3 separate regions of the Homo sapiens genome follow, and regions 1 and 2 are each linked to region 3. Evidence: promoter capture Hi-C in 16 types of primary human blood cells and fetal thymus (Javierre and others, 2016). All regions are on one chromosome and are shown on one strand. The core of a region is centred on a gene start or on the middle of the fragment in contact, and the rest is flanking DNA. Distances in the headings are between cores, read along the strand shown.

The links. Contacts are between HindIII fragments. The CHiCAGO score rates a contact against its expected background, and 5 or more counts as called.
Region 1: a contact is called between a fragment that was not itself captured here and the fragment with the promoter of SDS in region 3, in 1 of 17 cell types (fetal thymus). The highest score is 5.7, in fetal thymus.
Region 2: a fragment that was not itself captured here is called in contact with the fragment with the promoter of SDS in region 3 in 1 of 17 cell types (M2 macrophages); the score reaches 5.8 in M2 macrophages.

Annotation. Positions count from the first base shown.
Region 1 is chr12:113,038,852-113,041,784 of GRCh38, forward strand. No RefSeq gene overlaps it. Among named protein-coding and RNA genes, the nearest start is that of DTX1, 16 kb to the right of the region's middle. The HindIII fragment of the contact is 1,387 bases long and covers 560-1,946 here.
Region 2 is chr12:113,912,177-113,915,501 of GRCh38, forward strand. It overlaps RBM19 (RNA binding motif protein 19), which reads right to left. Exons shown (of 24, transcript NM_016196.4): 21 at 2,793-2,909. Among named protein-coding and RNA genes, the nearest start is that of RBM19, 52 kb to the right of the region's middle. The HindIII fragment of the contact is 6,170 bases long and covers 1-3,325 here.
Region 3 is chr12:113,402,380-113,405,560 of GRCh38, forward strand. It overlaps SDS (serine dehydratase), which reads right to left and starts at 1,508. Exons shown (of 8, transcript NM_006843.3): 1 at 1,389-1,508. The HindIII fragment of the contact is 9,232 bases long and covers 1-1,663 here.

The DNA of each region.
Region 1 (2,933 bases), core at 3-2,502, 360 kb before region 3:
GAGAGAGAAAGAAAGAAAGAAAGAAAGAAAGAAAGAAAGAAAGAAAGAAAGAAAGAGAAAGAAAGAGAGAGAGAGAAAGAGAGAGAAAGAAAGAAAGAAAGAAAGAGAAAGAAAGAAAGAAGGGAGGGAGGGAGGGAGGAAAGAAAGAAAGAAAGAAAGAAAGAAAGAAAGAAAGAAAGAAAGGAGAAAGAAAGAAAGAGCTGTTCTCCCTTGAATGATAAGAAGCCCCCAAAGTCTTCCCACTGAGCCCTGAAGCCGGGGTGCAGCCCCCCCACCCAGGCTGGGTGCCTCCCATTGCAGTCATGCTGATTTAAGACCCAGAGAAAGACCCTCACCAACGGGGGTTACTTTCAGGACTGCCATAACAAAATACATAGACTGGGTGGCTTAGAAACTACAGAAATGTGGTGCTCATAGTTCCAGAGACTGGCAAATACAAGATCAAGGCGTCTGCAGATTTGGTGTCTGATGAAGGCCTTCTTCCTGGTTCATAGGTAGCTGCCTGGTTCATAGGTAGCTGCCTTCTCTCTGTGTCTTCATATGGCTGAAGGGGTAAGGAAGCTTTCCAGGGATCCTTTTATAAGGGCACTAATCCCATTCATGAAGTCCCCACCTGCATGACTTAATCACCTTCTCACATCACCTCCTCACACCATCACACTGTGGGTTAGGAGTTCAATGTATGAATTTAGGGGTTGAGGAGACATAGACATTCAGTCCACTGCACCAGTGCTGCCCAAAGCCTGGCAGATCTCAGCAAGACTCCTCAGCTGCAGGTTGTTAGGGGCACCCCTCTTGAGCTACAATTAATTCAGGCTGTGTTAAAATAACCTGGGCTAGGTGGCTCACCCCTGTAATCCCAGCACTTTGGGAGGCTGAGGCTGGTGGATCACCTGAGGTCAGGAGTTCAAGACCAGCCTGGCCAATATGGCGAAACCCCATCTCTACTAAAAATACAAAAATTAGCCGAGTGTGATGGTGCACGCCTTTAATCCCAGCTACTTGGGAGGCTGAGGCAGGAGAATGGCTTGGACTCAGGAGGCAGAGACTGCAGTGAGCTGAGATTGCGCCACTGCACTCTGGCCTGGGCAACAGAGTGGGACTCCATCTCAAAAAATAAAATAAAATGAAGATCCCAGTCTAATTACTGTAATACTTCAAAGCAGTGATGAGTAAAAGCAATATATTTTGAGACAGCACCAACAAGTGAAATGTAATAGGAAACTATAGGATTCTATTCATGACACAGTCAGACGCTACTCACACCATTGTGGTTTGTTGCCTATGTTCATAGTAGAAGGAAATGCTGTCTTTCAATTCACAGTTAATGAGAATAAAGATATCACTTTCCCCATCCAAGTTCAAAGGAGTCTGTGATCCCCAGGCTGAGAACCCCAGCCAAGAGATTCTTCGCTATCTTCTAGGCTAGGGTTTTGGGATCTGAATGTGTCAGGGTAATGTCTCCTGGGTCCGCCAAATCCTCAATGAATCACCCAGTTCTACCCCCATCCTTCTTTCTCAAGGGTCATCTCCCATCTCAAGATAATCCAGATACAGCCCTTCTACTCTCTGCATCTATGAATTTGACTCTTAGATTTCGCTTACTAGTGAGATCCTGCAGTGTTTTTCTTTTTGTGTTTGGCTTATTTCACTTAGCATAATGTCCTCCAAGTTCATCAAGGTTGTTGTAAATGGCAGAGTTTCCCTTTTTGGAAGGCTGAATAATCTTTGTGTATATACCACGGTTTCGTTATCCATCGTCTGCCATGAACACCTGGGTTGTTTCCGTATCTTGGTTATTGTGAATAATGATGGAATGAGCATTGGAGTGCAGCTGTCTCTAGATATCCAGATTTAGTTTCTCACCCTGAATGTTGAAACCTTAATCTCCTGCAGGGTTTATCCCAGGACCACACCCAGGATTGTCCTAGGCAAGTTCCTGTTCAAGCTTCGAGTTAGTCATCACTTCCTCCCTGAGGCCTCCCTGACTCCATGGTTTGCATTAGTGATTCCTCTGTCCCAGGCTCCACCTCCCCAACCCAGCACTGACCACCTCATCCCTGCCTCCACTGACCTAGTTCCTGGGCTGGAACTGGAGTGAGACTGACATGTGACTTTGGGAGTTAAGGCAATGGAGAGCTGGTGTTGTGAAATGGAGCAGCCCCACCGCTCTCTTGCCCTGCCACAGTGACCCCGAGGCCACGTGCTCTCTCTGGGGAAGGGCTGCCCTCCTCCTTAGAAGAGCGAGAAGCAAGCCTTGATTGTGTTTCGCCACTGCAAGTCCAGGGTTTGTCTGTTGTGGCAGCTGGCATTAAACGCCCTGGCACACTCAGACCTCAAAGCCCAAGCCTAGAAGACAGTGAAGCAACCTGGTAGATGGTAAATGATGAAATATTCTGCTTTTAATAATTTTTTTTGAGACAGAGTCTGGCTCTGTCACCCGGCTAGAGTGTAGTGGTGAGATCTCGGCTCACTGCAACCTCCACCCCCCCCGGGCTCAAGCAATTCTCATGCCTCAGCCTCCCAAGTAGCTGGGACTACAGACGTGCACCACCACACCTGGCTAATTTTTTTATTTTTAGTAAAGACTGGGTTTCACCATGTTGCTCAGGCTGGTCTCGAACTCCTGACCTCAAGTGATCCACCCACCTTGGCCTCCCAAAGTGCTGGGATTACAGGAGTAAGCCACAGCACGCGGCCAATAATGTTTTTGTTTAATTTTTTTTAAGCTAGCTAACATTAACTGAGGTCATTCTGAATTAGGTATTGTTCTAAGAACGCAACAGTCATGAAGTCATTTAATCCTCACACCCTATACCTATGGGACTGGTACCTATTATCTCACTCTCATTTACAGATGAGAAAACAGAGGCACAGAGAGGTGCAGTAACTTATCCAAGGTCACACAGCCACAAAGCATTGAAGCCAGGATT
Region 2 (3,325 bases), core at 551-3,050, 510 kb after region 3:
TGCCTTCTCTCCCCTCCAGCAGGCGGGGTAGCTTGAGGCCCTGCCCAGAGAATGCTCTCCGGAGCCCTGCACTCTCACCTGCACACCTGTCCCACTGGCTGTCCCTGTCAGTTTCCTCTCTGGTCCCCCACAGAGAGACCTGAGTCTCTCCTGAAATGGCTACATGCCTCGTGCCTAGCACAGTGCCTGGTATAAATGACACACTCGCTGTCATTTGGTCCCACTGGAATGATCTGGAGGAAGACAGTTCCTTCTAGACCCAAGAAAACAGGCAGCAGAGAGGAGTGGCTCCAAGCCGGGGCTCTGGGTTAGGCTGACTTAGATCCAAATCCCCATTCAGCGGCATGGTCCCAGGCAGGACACTCCATCTCCCTAGTTTCCATCTCCAGTTTCTGTCTGGGTGCAAAAGGAATGACAGCATCCATCCCTCGCAGGGCTGCTGTGCGGCTTAAAAGAGGTGATTCTGCACGGGAAGGCATTCAAGCTCAGAGCCCCGCACACAGCAAGCGTGTAATAAAAGGGAGTTGTGATTTTTACTACACCTGGTAGGAGAAACCCATAGAACCTGCCTGCCCAAATGGACCAGCTTGGTTCCCCGAAACCCTGAAACCTCCCCCTGGCTAATGACCTTTACCGGCCAGTGGCTTTGTCTGAAATCCTGTCTGGGGCTTCCCTGGACAATCTTGAAGTCCCTGAGAAGGCTCACAGCGACCCCTGCTGTCTGCAACGAGGAACTGCCTTACATCCCCAGCCGGAGTGAACAACAATAGCAGGTACGGCCCTCCAAGAAGGTCTTACGTTTCCAGGGTTTTAAGAAAACTCTCATCAGAACAATGGCAAGGAGAAGAGTCACCACATGTAATTATGTTCAGTGGACACTAATTCCCTGTCTTCTAAAAATAAATATAATACATGAGATCACACAAAGTGCTCTCTCTTCCCTTGTGGTCTTTTGTTTCCCCGGATAAGTGTCATCCTAAATATACTGCAGAACCAAGTGAAACTGTCATTTCAGCGGGATATTATTTCCCGATCAACATGCGCTCTTCTTAGCAAGCCCGTTTTAATCTGGCAGTTCTTAAGTTGGACTCCTTTTAAAAAGCAGAGCATGTTTAAACAAGCAGACATACCGAGAGGCTAAGGATATGTACCTTCCTGGAGGGACGACTGATCAGTCGAGGTTTAGGGAAATGGGAAACCTCCCCCCAGGTCATGACCCCATCTCGCCAGGCTATTCCTGCTGTGCAGGATACCCGGAGATCATAGCTAAGATCCTGCTTCCCAGATACTGGCAGGATTGGTCTCTGCCTCAGATCCCAGCTCACCACACACCACATCTGTTTATGAACTGAATACTAGTGTATGATTTAGAACAAACAGAGGGGAAAAGGAGGACAAAGATATCTGAAGTTCCCCACATGACTTCTTATTCTTCAAACTACAGAGTGAGAGCAAAGAAGGTAGATGCCACACAAAGATAATTGTTTCTCATCTCCAAAACACAAGGCTGATTTTGTAACCACAGATTACCTTGCAAGATGCTAACTGGCAACTCTAACAGAGGCTTCACTCTTGGACCCTTGTGCAAGTGTAGAATGAACGAACGAGACCTAGTGTCTAGAATCCTAAATGTTCACCCACGCGCAGGCCATGGTGCTGCAGGTCCCCCGAGCAGTCCTGGATCCCACCGAAGCCTCAACAATGTGTTTAGGTGAAGCTGACTTCATCTGCCTTTGCATTCTGAGAGCTAGATGGTCTCTCTATTACCCTGCCCATGCCTTGGGTGGGGGGGCCTTGGCTTCAAGCATTCCCCTTAGGCCCTGATATGAGGACGTTTCTTTCATTCATGGCTTGGTGCTGGGTGGTGCCTACCTAATCTGAAAAGCCAAACACTGTAACATGGCAGCGTAGGGATCACCAACTAGGGGCCCTGGGGCAGGCCAGACTTGTTTTGTTTTTAAAAAGTGAATTAGTTGCTGATGAATTCTCCTTAAGAATCCACATGGCTGGTTTCTCTTTCAAAACATGGGAACTGGTCTTACGAAGCCTGAGTTCCTGCATGGCATCCCAGCTGGATGACCAGAGAGAGGCCCGCCTGCTGCTCAGTCCCCACCCAGCCTGCTGCCGTTACCGGCTGGGTCCCTGCGACAGCTGCATTTTCCACCCCTGTGCAAGCAGGTGCTGACGGACTGCTTTATGTGTGCAGGTAATTCGCCTTCATTTCCATAGAGTCATTTAGGCCACTGGTCCCCAACCCCGGCTGGACATTAGGATCCCCTGGGGAGCTTTTAGCAAAACACCGATGTCTAGACCCCACTGTTGAAAAATGGAATCCAACTCTCTGGGGGTGCAGCCTCGGGAAAGGTGTATTTTAGCCATTGCCAGGTGGCTGGAATGTGTGGCTAAGGTGGAAAACCAGCACCTTAAACCAAAGGGGTAGCCTGGATGGAGGAAATTTCAAGCAGATCATGGGTAGGGCTGGGTTTTAGCCACTGGGGCCCCTGCCCCTCTTGCACGTTGTGGATGGGGACAGGGAAGCCTGCCTGCCCTTTCTCCATCTGCCTCGGAGAGGGGGAAGCCTGGCTGTTTTGACTTTTTTCCTGCACAGTGCTCTGGGGAGCCACATCTGAGATTAAGGGAGATAAATCAAAAGCAGCCAAAAGATGACCTTTGAAAGACCACTGTGCCGGCCTGCAACGGAACCATCCAGGACCCAAAGGCCATCTTCCCTGAGACTCGGGCAGGCTCCCCGCCCACACGCCAGTCCCCTGGACTAAACCTGAAGTTCTCACCTGAAGAGCTCTCGGATCTCCCGGCTGTGGGCCTGGAAGGGGATGTTCCGCACCAGGATCTTGGAGGTGGTCTGCTTTCTGGGAACTTGTTTCTTCCGAGCCAATGTCACGGCTGGCCTGGAGTGGTGGGGGGAGAGGGTCCAAGTTATTCGGAGCTTCAGCAGCTCCTGCCCAACATTGACTCCACTACGCCTCCATCAGAATATTCAGGTGATGGATTCAAGGAGTGTGCGTGGGGTGCGGGACCAACGTGAAAGGAGAGGAAGGCCGTCTCCCACCAGGTGATAGGACCCAAAACAGCTGCAGACGTCAGGGGGACACATCCGTGCTTGGGTGGCTGCTGACCTTCATTTGAGAGACTCCGGGGCCACCAGGGACTTAAGGAGCCCCGCTAAGGGTGGGGCTGGTTTCTCACCAAACCCAATCTCCATTGTGTCTTTCTCTCCAGTTGCAAAGAAAGACCCCAGTTGGTTTCCAAAGGTCTTGTGACACTTCATCAATAACCCGAGGAGGAACATGCGGGGGCCTAACCA
Region 3 (3,181 bases), core at 258-2,757:
CCTTCTGGGTTCAAGCGATTTTCCTGCCTCAGCCTCCCAAGTAGCTGGGATCACAGACGTGCACCACCACGCCCGAATAATTTTTGCATTTTTAGTGGAGACAAGGTTTCACCATATTGGGCAGGCTGGTCTCGAACTCCTGACCTCAAGTCATCTGCCTGCCTTGGCCTCCCAAAGTGCTGGGATTACAGGCGTGAGCCACCACACCGACTGACTTGACATTAAAGGCCGGTGTAGGTCACCAAGGCCTGGCCTCAGGGACAATCGGGGTGGGAGTCAGAGGAGCCGGCCACGAAGACCCTTTTCAGGTGGGTTTGGGGCGCCTCTCTCGCCGTTTGTCCCAGGCGGTGCCATGGGATGCCTTCAGGTAAAAGGACAGGGCTCCCTCTGCCGCGGCTTTCCGTGAAGTGAGCATCCATTAACTGCATCCAGCCTGCCCCAAGGATCCCTGCCCCAAGGATCGCAAGACTTCAGAAGAGGTTGTGCCCGGGGAGGAGGAGGGAGGGAGCCCTGAAGCCGCTGTCTGCCCACTCCGGCAGTCGGAAGCCACCTTCCCTTTCACTTGGTTCACAGTAAGTGCTCAGTCGATATGAACTATTATGAAATCTGGGCTGGACACCTTAAGTGCAGGTCATCCTTTCACCGTCACAACCACCTGAGGAGGAAGGCGCTATGCTCATCCCCATTCTACAGATGTGGAAGCTGAGGCACAGAACTGGACACAAACTCAGTGTTTAGGCCCAAATGGCTGTTTTTTAAAAATTTGAGACAAGGTCTTGCTGTGTCACCCAGGCTGGAGTGCAGGGGCGCAATAATTGCTCACTGCAGACTCGACCTCTTGGGCTCCAGCGATCCTCCCAACTCAGCCTTCCCAGTAGCTGGGACTACAGGTGTGCACCACCACACTATACTAATTAAATTCTTTTTTTAGGTCAGGAGTTCGAGACCAGCCTGGCCAACATGGTGAAACCCCATCTCTACTAAAAATACAAAAATTAGCCGGGCGTGGTGGCACACGCCTGTAGTCCAAGCTACTCGGGAGGCTGAGGCAGGAGAATCGCTTGAACCCAGGAGGTGGAGGTTGCAGTGAGCCCAGATTGTGCCATTGCACTTCAGCCTGGGTGACAGAGTGAGACCTCTGTCTTAAAAAAAAAAAATTTTTTTTGTAGAGATTGGGGGGGGTCTCACTCTGTTGCCCAGCTCAGTCTTGAACTTGTGGCCTCAAGCAACCCTCCCACCTCAGCCTTCCAAAGTGTTGGGATTACAGGCATCAGCCACCATGCCCAGCCTTGACAGACTCTTTCTATGTCTCCCTCTTCCCCTGGGAAACCACAGGCTAGCCCGGGACACTCCAGTCCTGAGGTGGGACTGAGGATGGGGCCACTTACCCGGCAAAGGTGATGGGTCTGAGCAGGAGTCAGAGCCAAGCCAGCGAGGGAGGGATCAACTGAGTAGATAGCCCACGAAGAGAGGGGGCTGAGGACGGGTGGACAGTCTTCTGAATGGTCCCAGGGGCTACTTGGTCCTGGGCTTTATTCCTCTGGCACCTCTGGGCAGCCAATGGGGCCCTGGGGCTGGCTACACCCCCCCCTCCCTCCTGCCAGGACCCACCCCCCTGGCTTGAGGCCACTGAGGCTGTCAGAAGGGAGGTGGAATCTGGCCAAGCTTTCTTCTTTGGCAGCTTCCTCCTGCCTTTCCCACAACCCACTCCTCCTCCCTCTTTCCACTTCCCCTTTCTGTCCTCAGTTTCGTGAAAGGAAAATAAAAAATTGGGACCCCCAACTCACTATGCCAAAAGAAAAAGAATTAAGCTAAAAGCTGAGTCATGTAAGAAACTGCCTTTCCTTTAGTTCCTAAGCAGATAGCTTCAGATGAAAGGTTAAATATTGGCTCCGCATTTTGGGAGGCCGAGGCGGGTGGATCACCTGAGGTCAGGAATTCGAAACCAGCCTGGCCAACATGGTGAAATCCCGTCTCTACTAAAAATACAAAAATCAGCCGGGTGTGGTGGCACGTGCCTGTAATCCTAGCTACTCAGGAGGCTGAGGCACAAGAATTGCTTGAACCTGGGAGGCAGAGGTTACAGTGAGACTAGATCTCGCCACTGCACTCCAGCCTTCACAACAGAAAGAAAAAAAAAAGTTAAATATCTCCACAGGTCGCTACTCTATGTTCACCTTATCTTATGTAAAGTGCCGATTTATTGAGATCAAGACAAATACATAATTGGCTACTTCCCTATCTGCCCCTCTTCTCTTACAAACTGTGGATTTGGTAATGTGGCCATAGCCTCCTTCTTTCCCCTCCAGCTTGCTTTTCTCCTTTAAATACTGACACCTAAAGTCATCTCTGGAGAAAAGCACAGACCTGTCTCCCAGGTGCATTCTTAACCCTGGCGAAATAAATTTCTAAATGGATTGAGTCCTGTCTCAATCTTTTTGATTCTTTTTGATTTACAGATTGGAGACTCATGAAAGGGACCCTGGGTGGAGGTGGCCCTGACCTTTGACAAGTCTCCTACTGGTGCTTGGTGGGTCTTGCTCTGTCACCCTGGCTGGAGTGCAATGGCATGATCTTGGCTCACTGCAACCTCCATCTCCTGGGTTCAAGCGATGCTCCTGTTTCAACCCCCCAAATAACTGGGAGTATAGGCATGTGCCACCACACTCAGCTAATTTTTTGTATTTTTAGTAGAGATGGGGTTTCACCATGTTAGCCAGGCTGGTCTTGAAGTCCTGACCTCAAGTGATCCACCCGCCTCAGTCTCCTAGAGTGCTGGGATTACAGGCGTGAGCCACCATGCCGGCCTTGAGCGATCTTGATTGCCCTCCAAAATAGGACAGTTTGCTGAGGCCTGGGAGCTCCCCACCTCCAGAGAACTCCTGATCTCCCACAATTGGTTGATATCTAAGCTTGATTTCCCTGAACAGCTCCTTTTCTGCGTTTTACTCACTTCCAACAAGGAAGGTGAGTTTTCTGGCTTCCATGATGATGGCAAGCAGGCAGCTCCTTTCTGGAGTTTCGCTTGTGTCCGGCAGGGAAGGCAAGTTTGAGATTTCCCCGCTTCTAGGATGGTAGAGAGCGGTCTTCAGCCTGGGCCCCATGACTAGAAGTTAGGGTTAACAACCAGCTGGTCTTAATTTCTCCCTACTTTTAGAGCGTGCAGTAATCGTATAAATTG